Linked DNA regions of Homo sapiens: all the other regions are linked to region 3. Evidence: promoter capture Hi-C in human tissues and cell types (Jung and others, 2019). All regions are on one chromosome and are shown on one strand. The core of a region is centred on a gene start or on the middle of the fragment in contact, and the rest is flanking DNA. Distances in the headings are between cores, read along the strand shown.

Evidence for each region. Contacts are between HindIII fragments. The study calls those that stand out against the background at their distance.
Region 1: a contact is called between a fragment that was not itself captured here and the fragment with the promoter of ADARB1 in region 3, in 3 of the 25 tissues and cell types used here (IMR-90 fibroblasts, spleen and thymus).
Region 2: a fragment that was not itself captured here is called in contact with the fragment with the promoter of ADARB1 in region 3 in 3 of the 25 tissues and cell types used here (H1 embryonic stem cells, IMR-90 fibroblasts and bladder).

Annotation. Positions count from the first base shown.
Region 1 is chr21:45,151,378-45,154,798 of GRCh38, forward strand. The region is part of intron 2 of ADARB1 (adenosine deaminase RNA specific B1); the gene reads left to right. Among named protein-coding and RNA genes, the nearest start is that of ADARB1, 79 kb to the left of the region's middle. RefSeq lists an enhancer at 1-832. The HindIII fragment of the contact is 4,613 bases long and covers 1-3,421 here.
Region 2 is chr21:44,990,473-44,994,093 of GRCh38, forward strand. It overlaps LINC00163 (long intergenic non-protein coding RNA 163), which reads right to left and starts at 3,614. Exons shown (of 2, transcript NR_033840.1): 1 at 3,432-3,614; 2 at 1-1,363. The HindIII fragment of the contact is 4,237 bases long and covers 1-3,621 here.
Region 3 is chr21:45,073,228-45,076,776 of GRCh38, forward strand. ADARB1 (adenosine deaminase RNA specific B1) reads left to right here and starts at 1,353. Exons shown (of 11, transcript NM_001112.4): 1 at 1,353-1,566. LOC105372836 (a long non-coding RNA gene) reads right to left here and starts at 514. Exons shown (of 5, transcript XR_937796.3): 1 at 246-514. RefSeq lists silencers at 997-1,086, 1,107-1,306. The HindIII fragment of the contact is 7,799 bases long and covers 1-3,541 here.

The sequences.
Region 1 (3,421 bases), core at 919-3,418, 79 kb after region 3:
TTGCACTAATTGGAATAATGAATTAGAAAGTGGATGTTGGTCATTATTAGGAAAAGGTACTTTGTTACACGAGACAGTAATTGCATTGTGGCAAGAGAAAGAATCTGACTAATTAATTTGTCTTTTTTTTCTTTTGCCTATGAGTGCTTCTTCTGCTTGACTCCTCCCCATAATCGGACTCCTTCCAAGACAGCCTAATCTTCAGGGCATTTGGATGCAGCTGCCTTTTGTTCCAGAGACACAGGCCATCTCAGGGGAGGTATCTCCCTGGGGCCTGAACAGCGTTTTTCTAGACAAGAGGAGGCTGAGGGCTGTGGGTTCTGCTTTGCCAGCCCTGAATGCTGGATCCCGAGTGGCAGAGGCACCAAGTGCTGTATGATGTGTGTATGTGATGTGTGTGCATGTACATGTGTGTGATGTGTGTCCCTGCTCGCCCCAGGCTGGCCATGGTACTGTGCTAGTCACAGACTGGCTGTGCTGATCAAGCCAGGCACAGTGGAAAATGGGAAGATGTTGGCGTTTGCCCCTCCCTTGGCTGTGTGTCATTCACCTGGGGCATGAGCTGTGCCCCTGCTCTGCAGTAATGAACAAGGCAGGTCAGCATTGGTCCGAGACACGTGAGTTAAGAGAGGAGGAAGAGCACTCTCTGGGGGCGGGGGGATCCATTTGTCAGTGGCCTGCAGTTTCCTGTCCCAGGGATTTCACTGGTGACATCCTGACCACTCACCTGCACTTTATATGGAGCTGTTTTCATCAGCTGGCGTCTGCTGAGCCTCTGCATTGTGTTGTGTGGTAGCCTGTTACTTTTTGCAGTTTTATTTTCTAAACTGTACTCTTTTATTGATAGATTTTTTGTATTAGGATTTCCATTTAAACAGGACTTTGGTACGTCTGCTGTGGGAGATTTGTTTCCCTAGAAGATTCACGGCTGTCGTTCTCTCCCCTCTGCTCGTGGTGTTTTACTGTGACTGCGCTGAACGGTTAGCTGTCACATGTCATTCTCTGGGTGGTGTGCTCTGAAGTCATTGTGGTGTGTGGGCCCCTTCAGCCTAGTTCTGCCTAACTGCGGCATGATGAATGGGCCCGAGGCAGAGGAGGAGGCTCCCTCGTCGGTAGGGGCTGCTGTTGTCGCAGCTGCCGGCACACGGAAGTGAGTCGGTGTGCTGCTGCCCCGAGTGACTGAGGGACAGAATGAGGCTGGGGCCGGCCGGACTGGCATTGGCGTGTCTGCATGGCGTCGTCCACCACTGGGCCTTTGCACATGGGGACCTTTTTCAGCATCATGGGGCGTCGGTATAAAAGGAGGCGCAAGAAGCGCTCTGAGAGGAAAGGTAATTCATTTAGTTTTTATTCTTCAGTGTGAAGCATTTGTCTTTAATGCAATACAGAAGTGTTTTCTGGGATAGACGGCTTTGTGAATTAATCTTGCTGATGCCAGTTACTTCCTATTTTCCCTTTTTGAGTGCCTTTTTTGTTGTTGGCATTTTATAGAATTTTAGATAGGGGCACTTAAAAAGGAAGATTCAAAAACATGTCTGTAAACATGAATAGAAATCATTTAGCTTCAGAGTCTGGAGTATGTCTTTGGAAAGATATTTATAAAACTTTAAAGTTTGTAGCTTTGAGCTACAGAAAAGGTTTTTCTCCCAGAGACAGATGCTTATATGAGATTTCCTTTGCCGCACTCTTCATTAATGACTTTTCTACATTAAAACTGTTCTTCATGCTGCAGAAAGCAAGGCTGAGCAACCATTGTGAAAATATTTCCCCTTTAAAAGAATGGAGAGCAAATTCCTTACATTCTGCACTCCAGGTTAATACCAGTTTTTAATTCAACTTAATGTTTTAAGTCATTAAAATCTAGATTTTTTTTCTCAAAACCAGATTCAAAAGTTGTCCATGACTATACACATCACAAGCTACTGGTTTTTGGACCTAAATTGCTGCTTTAAAAGCTGTTGATGTTTTTTTTTTCTCTTTGTATAATATGAAATAATTAATAGAAAATGCCTTAGTGAAAAGATGTGTCTAGCCCGGAGAACAGCTGAACACAGGCGTGATCAGTGCCTCTGCCTCTGTGTCTTCTGGGCGCCCCCTTAGTGTCCCCCACCCGACAGGACTGGAGTACAGCGCTTCACCACCACAGGGCCCTTGGGACATGCTGTGGCAGGAGATGGCTGTTTCTTCAGGAAGTAAAATTAACCTCGGTTTTTTGGTGTGGCTTCCTAAGAAGAAGAACAGATGAATCTCAAAGTCAGCAATCTTGTAATAGTACCTTGTAATATAACAAAGGTGACAGCACCTAATGGAAGTCTGTGTCTGGGAGTGGGGAACCCCTGACCCTGGGCCCTCTGTGCACCGTGCTGCCAGGTGCTTGTGTCCAGGGCTGGGGATGCCACACCCTCGATGCTTTCCTGGACTGACGGGCGGTCTCAGGACAGCCAGTCTGTGCGGCCCCCTCTGCCCTCACCTCAAGAGGTCACAGCATTGGCCTGTTTTTGTTTCCTCAGTTAAGCTTTGGAAATTGAGATGTCACTAAGACAGGCAATAGGGAGTAAAACAAAGGCACAGGCAAAAACTAAAGGACATTTTTACCAAATACCCTCAATTTAGAATTACCACCACTTTTCCCATGGACACTCATCACTAATTATTTAAGTTGGGAAAAATATTGAGAAGTACAAGAATAATTCTGTCATCATTCTTTTGGAATTTACTGTGATTCAAGCTTAAAATGTCTTTTTCATGCATTCCATAATCTCATTCTGCAGTGGGAAAACCACTCTCAAATATGTTGCATTTTCAGACCAAGGTTATAAGAAATTGAGAGGGTTATAAGATGTAACAATGAGGCCCACATATTAAATGGCTTGTGTTCCTTGGTCATTCCTATGTGAGTAAGTTCATTGTGAGTGTTACTAAACAGTATCATGTTATGTGTTAGTTCTCGCTGTTGGTATTTTGTAATAAGCATTATCTTTGAAACTAATAAAAATACCTTTGAAATTATCGATATTATTAAGATTGGCCATCACATTTATACCAAACTGGCAAAGTTTTATAAGATGTAAAATAGTCTTTTATACTGTATATTTCTAAGGTACTGTAAATCATGTGTATTGCATGGTTTTTTCCCTAAGACTGATACAATGTACGCCTTTTAAAATGTAATTCTTTGATGAAAACAATGTAGTAGCAAGTTACGGGTTTTAGTTGGCTTCAGTGGCAATATAATTTCAGTGATTTTTTTCATCACTCCTGGATTATACTTGCAGTTACTGCCTTCCACAGGGCAAATAATTGACTGTTGACTGTGTGTGAGCCTCAGATGGGTTAGCTTAATCATCAGGAAAATAGGGCTAAAGAATAATGTACCATTTAAATACTGGCCAGAGTCCCCATCAAGCAGACACTGCCACCC
Region 2 (3,621 bases), core at 617-3,116, 82 kb before region 3:
GGGCCTGCAGATTCTGTGGTGTGTCGGTGCAGTGCTCAGCATCAGCCGTGACGGTCACACTGGCACTCGCTGTCTGTGTCACGCATTCGCATCCACTGTCAGCGCGTCACAGTGGCGTTCGCGGTGAGGATGGGGCGTTGCCGTTGGCCGGTGTCTCAGCGCACTGGCTGTCGGGCTGGTCCCCCTGGGTTCGCTGCTGGCGTGCTTGTTCTCCGAGCACTCGCCGTTCACGTCCTCTCCGTTCCACACTGGCCTTTGCTATTTTCTCCACGCGGGTCTTATGGATGCTGTCCGAGCTGTGGAGCATCTGCCCTCCTGGCCCTCCTGCAGCTCGGGCTGTGCTCTGGATGAGCGAGGGCAACGTTAGCTGAGCGTGGGGGGCCTTGAGGTCTCTGCTGCACTTTCCCGAAGGCTGAGGTCCCTGGGGACCACTGAGCCGCCCCATGGGCCTTCCACAGCACTGCCGGTGCCAGAGGGCAGAACTCGGACCGACTCTTGCCTCATCTGCCCTCTGTTCCGAGGAGAACCCTTCCGGACTGGGCCACAGGGAGTCCAGCCGAGGTTCGGAGGGTGGTCAGGGGTCTGGCTGCCCCAAGGGGGTGCTTCTCAGAGCTTTGGGAAGACACCGGAGCCCAAGGGTCTGGATGGCCGTGGCTGAGCTGGGTCTGAGAGGCCAAGACCAGGAGGGCATCACATGCACCCGTGTCAGGGCCAGCTGGGATGGGAGACTGAGGCCGGGGCGGGTGTCCGGGTGCCCCCCACAGCTGTGCTGGGGCAAGTCTGGGGACACCACCTCCTCAGCCCTGTCCAGGAGTGTGGACCCCAGGCATCAACTGTCCAGGGGCCTGTCCAGGAGTGTGGACCCCAGGCATCAACTGACCAGAGCCCTGTCCAGGAGTGTGGACCCCAGGCATCAACTGACCAGAGCCCTGTCCAGGAGTGTGGACCCCAGGAATCAACTGTCCGGGGGCCTGTCCAGGAGTGTGGACCCCAGGCATCAACTGTCCAGAGCCCTGTCCAGGAGTGTGGACCCCAGGCATCAACTGTCCAGGGGCCTGGGGCATCCATGGGCCACACGGCAGCGCTGAAAACACAGGGCCCTTGCACCCAGGGCAGACCTCAGCACAGTTGGAGACATCACTCCTGCCCTCCTTGCGCTCGGCCCGAGAGCTAGAGCTTGCTCAGCTCAGCCCCAGGAGGAAGCAGAACCGCAGCCTCCAGAACATTGGGGTGACCCCGTCGCTGAGGGTCCCCTGGCCCAAGGCCAGCGTGTGTCTTCCGGGGGAGGAATGACCTCTGGAGCCGCCATCCCCAGCCTCGGCAGCAGGGGCTCCAGGGTCCGGGAGCCAAAACTCAGCAGCTGCTGGGTGTGCAGGGAAAGTTGTTTAGATAAAATCCAAACAAGCACCTCATATATTACAGGAGGCTGTAAAACAAACTTAGCCTTGTGCTAATATTTTGGTTTGGTTTCCACTATCCACACCTAGAAGAATGTGAGCGCCATCCCAGCCCGGCGGTCAGTAACATTCCAGGAGCTTTGGGGAGCGTCTCCATTGCCAGTCAAGAGCCAGGCGCCACGCACCCCAGTCCGGAGGGACCGCTCAGCCTCGGGCTAAAAAAGGGAGAGAGCGCAAGCAGATGGCGTCCACAGCCGCGTCTCCAGGCCACAGCGGGCACCTGCAGGGCAGCTGGGAATGGGAAGGGCAGAGGCGGCCAGAAGCTCGTGCCCTCACTGATGCCGGCCCTGGCAGTTCTTTCCAAAAATCTTCCCACTCAGCTCCCTGAGTCCCACGGATCAGGCGCCCTTAGCCTGCTGTGCAGGGGGTGGGGGAGACTGAGGCACAGAAGGCCGGGCCCCCCAGGCACCAAGCACGGCCCATGACCCAGAGCCATGGAGTCACCCAGGCCGCACAGCTGGTGAGAGCAGCCCTAGATGAGGCGGAGCCACTGGGTTCAAGGCCAGAGTTCCTGCTGCACCCCCGACCCCTGGTCCCGCCATGGAAGGTGCCAGGAGTCATGTTCCCTGGGCTCCTCTTCCCCCAAAAGCCCCTCCTCATGTATGCATGAGTGTGTGTGTGTGTGTGAGAGTGTGTGTGTGCACGTTTCCCTGCCTGAGCACTGAGCACACCTCCGCACAGGCAACTGCTGCCACCACCTCATGGTCTCCCAGTAGCCACTATGAGGAGGGCAGAGGCCACCGCCTCTAGCCCAGCAGGACGAGGGCCTCGTGACCCGTGGGGGGAGCAGAGCAGGGTCTGTGTGCCTCGTGACCCCTGGGGGGTGGGCAGAGCAGGGTCTGTGTGCCTCGTGACCCCTGGGGGGTGGGCAGAGCAGGGTCTGTGTGCAGGGTTCCTTGCCAGGCACGTGGCCAGCACTGCAGGAGCTGGCATTGTGGTGGCTCGGACGCCCTGACCCCGTGTTGATGTTTTTGGTGCAGCCCTGCCCGCGTGGCCTTAGGGTGACCCATGTGACCACAGCCCATGGCGGGCACAGCACAAGGGAGGCCACTTCCAGGCCTAGGGGGTTAGACTGTGGCTTCTGGCACCTGGAGGAGACTTGGCAGCCTGGGGGTGCCACATGGTCAGGGGCTGAGGCCTCCCCACAGCCCCGTGAGCCCCGTCCTGGACAAGGGGCTGCCCGTGGCTGCCACCTGAGCCACAGCCACCAGCCATGCTGCCCCTGAAACGGGGGAGCTAACACGTGGAGGCATTTTTAAGCTGCTACGTTTTGGGGTATTTGCTACACGGCTATAGATGTCTGATACGCTGTGGGGTATGCCCTGAATGTGGGGTCTGGTTGGCCCTAGGCTAGCATCAAGCTTTGGGCAGCCAGGGCCCCAAAGCCCCCACTCCTGCCCACTGTGGCCACGCGCCTGCAGGACCAGTCCCGCCGCTGTGTGGGCCTCGCCTCTGGACACAGGCCCCAGGACCCCCGAACTGAGGCTGGCCTGGCTCCACGTCCTCCCGCCCACTCCCGTTCAGCGCTGCCAGGCACCGTACCCTCTGCTGCCCACCAGGACCCGGCTCCTGGCAGGCCTGAGCCTCCTCCCCATCTCCCTTCACCCTCCCTGAGCACCCCCCGGGCCCATGGGCCCAGCCTGCTGAGGGTGACTTCTTCACACCCAGGCTCTTGGCCCAGCCTCCTCACCCCTGTCCCTGGGACTTCCTCCTGGCCACACCATCCTTCCAGCAGTGCTCCCAACACACATGGCCATCCCTGGGGAGTCTTCCAGGCAGCCCTACCCACCATCTCCACCCACCTCCTTCCCACCTGCTCACCACGAGGTCCTGTTCCCAGCATACGGCCCTGCTGCTGGCTGGGGAGGAGATCTGACCCCTCCTGGGCCACTGTCAGCATCCCCGGGACACAGTGCTGCCGGCCTCCCTTTGGAGTCCAACCCTGTCCTGTCCCCACCTGCCCCGTCCTCCTACCTGTGCTGGTTCTGGTGAGCCTGTCAGGTGACACACCCTGGCTGTCTCCTCCATGGGGCACCCAGTGAAGCCGAGGGAGGACCCTGGGGCTGGGACTCAGTTTCCCCTCCTAGGGGCCACGAACTGGTCTGGATGCCACAGGCTGCTGAGGGAGGACAGGTCGAGGGCACCATCGAGGGTGAGTCTTGGT
Region 3 (3,549 bases), core at 103-2,602:
GACACAAGCGACCCGCACCCCCCCACCGCCCAGCCCCAGCCTCCAGACTGGCTGAGATCACAGTGTGCGCCACCCCATCCCTGGCTTGCGATGGTCTCTTACTCCCCACTTTACAAGGGAGGAAAGAGGCCGAGGGCAGAGTGGGCCGCCTGAGGTTTGGAGGCCAGGGCTAGTACAACCTCAATTTGACCCTGGAACCTGCCGCTTCCCCCACCCAGGTGCGGGACCCACCCGCTTGTCCACACCTGGCTCTGCCCACCGCCCCCGGCTGCTCCTCTGGGCTCAGGTCGCCGCGGTCAGGAGCTGCCAAGTTTGCCTATCAAACTTTATCTTCGTGCAGAGAACTGCAGCCTGGAGCTGGTTATTCCGGTCAGTGAAAACGTTGCATTTCTACATATGCTTATCATCATCTGTGTAAACATTTCTTGGTATAACTGTGGAACAGTCAGTAAATATAGATAAATCGAAGAGTAGGTCTATTGCATATGCTATAAAAAAATGCTTTTACTATCAACCTAAAACAAACAAACAAACAAAAAAAATCAAACAAAACCACCATCACCTAAACGTTGGTAACTGGAGCAGCTGCTAGTGTCAGTGCGGACTAAACAGGAGACGGCGGGAACCGTGTCCAGCCAGGGTCCTGGGCCGCGACCTGGTTCTCCCGGAGTCTACAGTGAGGATGACGGGCGGGGAGAGGGGGCCGGCGGGACCCGCGTGTCCCAGGCAACTCCGGGAGAGGGAGAAGCAGGGGTGGCTCGGCGGGGGCTCGGCGGGGGCTCGGCGGGGGCTCGGCGGGGGCTCGGCGGGGGCTCGGCGGGGGCTCGGCGGGGGCAGCGCCCGCTGCAGGGAGGAGCGCGGGGGCCCGGGAGCCTGGGCAGCACCGCGAGACGCCACCTCCGCAAAACGCAAACGCCAATCGCCGGGCGCCTGCGGTCCCAGCTACCAGGGAGGCTGAGGCGGCAGGATCGCGTGAGCTCGGAGGTCCACCGCGCTCCAGTCTGGGCGACAGTGAGACCCCGTCCCCAAAACGAAGGCGGGCAGAGTCTCCTCAGCCGCGCTCGGGCGGGCGGCGCCGCGACGCCAGGCCGGTCCCGCGCTCTCGCCCCACGCTCCGGAGCCGCCCAGCCGCGGTCTCTCAGCTCCGGCCGCGCTCCAGCCCCAACGGCCCCGCGCCCGTCCGCCGCAGGTGGTCGTGAGGGAGGTGCCACAGCTCCGGCTGCCCACGACAGACACGGGCGCCCCAGCGCGCGCACGTCCGGCGTCGCTGCGCCGCCCCCGCCCCCTCGGCGTGCGCGCGCCCGGCGGGCCGGCGGGGGCGGGGAGGGGGCGGAGCCGCCGGCGGCGGGGCTGAGGCGCTGAGGCGGCCGTGGCGGCGGCGGCGGCGGCGGCGGCAGCGGCGGCCAAGCGGCCAGGTTGGCGGCCGGGGCTCCGGGCCGCGCGAGGCCACGGCCACGCCGCGCCGCTGCGCACAACCAACGAGGCAGAGCGCCGCCCGGCGCGAGACTGCGGCCGAAGCGTGGGGCGCGCGTGCGGAGGACCAGGCGCGGCGCGGCTGCGGCTGAGGTGAGGGCGGCGCGGGGCCGCGGCGGCTCGGGCGGGCGCGGGCTCCGGACCCCGCGGTGGCGGCGTTTATGTAAGCGCCGGGCAGGGACTGGTGGTGGGGCCGGAGCTGCGGGCCGTCCCGGGAGCGGAGGGCGCCCGCGGAGAAGCGAGGGTGCCGCGGCACCGCCTCGCACCCACCCTCCTGGGTCGCCCGTCTGCTCCGGCGCTCGGCTCCCGGAGGAAGCTGCGCCCGGGCGGCCCCGCGTCCCCTCCCGAGGGCGCCGAGTCCGCGTGGGATGCGCCGCGCTGCGCCGCGGGGAGGGCAGGTGCGCCGGGACGAGGCTGCGCCCTGGGGACCGAGACTGCGTTTTGGGGAGGGGACGGTGTGCCCTGGAGATCGGAGGCTGCGCTGGGGACGAGGCTGCGCCCGGGGACCAGAGGCTGCCCCGGGTACAAGGTTGCGCCGGGGAACGGGAGGCTGCGTTGGCAACAAGGCTGCGCCTGGGGACGGTAGGCTATGTCCCTGGGGAGACGCTCCGCCCGGCATGGGACGCTGCGCCGGGGGACGGCAGGCTGCGCCCGGGATGAGGCTGGGCCCGGGCAGGGGAGGCTGCCTTGGGAGGGGACGCTGTGCCACGGGAGTGGAGACTGCGTTGGGGACGAGTCTGCGCCCTGGACGGTCCTGCGTGTCCTTCCGAGGGCGCAGTGTCCGCGCGGGATGCTCTGCGCCGCGGGCGGCCCGGGCCAGGGAAGTTCCTGCGGGTGCCGGGCGTCTGCAGCGATCGGGAGCAATCTGGGGCAGTTGGGGGCCCGAGGTGACTTTTGACGTGTTCACATCAGAAGGAAAATTATTGCGTGGTGGATGGGTGCGAGGGAAGGTGTCAGATTGGGCTGTGGACGCTGAAACGTGTTGGAGTCCCGATTTACACGCTGGAAAACCTAACCTAAAACGTGTTCCTGTCCAGGTTTCTATGTCGGAGATCTGCACCGTGGTGTTTAGTTCCCAGTTAATATTTTTGGTCAGCAGGTTTGGGCTGTTACTTCTGATACAGGCATTTTACTTCCTTCTTACTAACCATTATTGCATTCCGTTCTCGAAGTATAACGAAAAGTGGCATGATATCAAACTTGTTTCTTTAACGTTTAACTCCATAATTAAGATGATAGAACCGTAGTTTTTTTAATTGAGAATACAAATATGTATTTAATCCTCTTTGTTTCCTCTTAAATTTTGCCGTATGTTTTATTGCTTCGAAAGGTGCCACCCAGAGCTGCATTTTCCAAAACGCTAGGTTGTCTTAAGAGCAGTTGTTTCTAGGAGATAGAAAAGCTAATTGTCTTTTGATGACCATCTTTTCCTTGGGGTTGAGACTGCTGTATCCTTTTTGCCTGCTGAGGGTTTCCCAGAGGGGAAAGGGAGAAGGAAGAAAGGATAAAAGCTTGGCTGATACAGTTCCTTCTTGGATAAGAGAATTAACTGTCTCTCATTGCGCGGTTCCTCCGGAGGACAGGGTCCAGTATGCATGGACAGCCACAACGGGGGCTCGGTAAGTATTTGATGAGACAGGCTGAGCTGGGTGCCTATATCTTGCCTGTGGTGGAGAGGATGAACTCACACAGACTCTGAAAGGAATGCATTGTCTGTGAGTGATGCCCTGTTAGATGTCTGAGGGTTCCTAAGACTGGGTATATCCCACTACATCTACATCACATTTGAAGCTGTAGTTGGAAAGGAAAAAAGGAGGCCCTCCTGCAGGGACAGGGGCTTAAAAATAATCGATCCAGCTCTGAGAAATTGATGACACATGTGTCTCTGGTGTGACGTGCTCATGCAGTTGTTACTGGGAGGCCAAGGGGGAAGGATTAGCTATGAAGTGATAACATCATCCACAAAAAACATCTTGGCTCAGAGGCTAATTTCACTTCCTCGTGAATTTATGTATTGTAAAACATTTGAATTCTTTTAGATTTTTGGAATAAGAATTTTTTTAACTTCTATTTGTC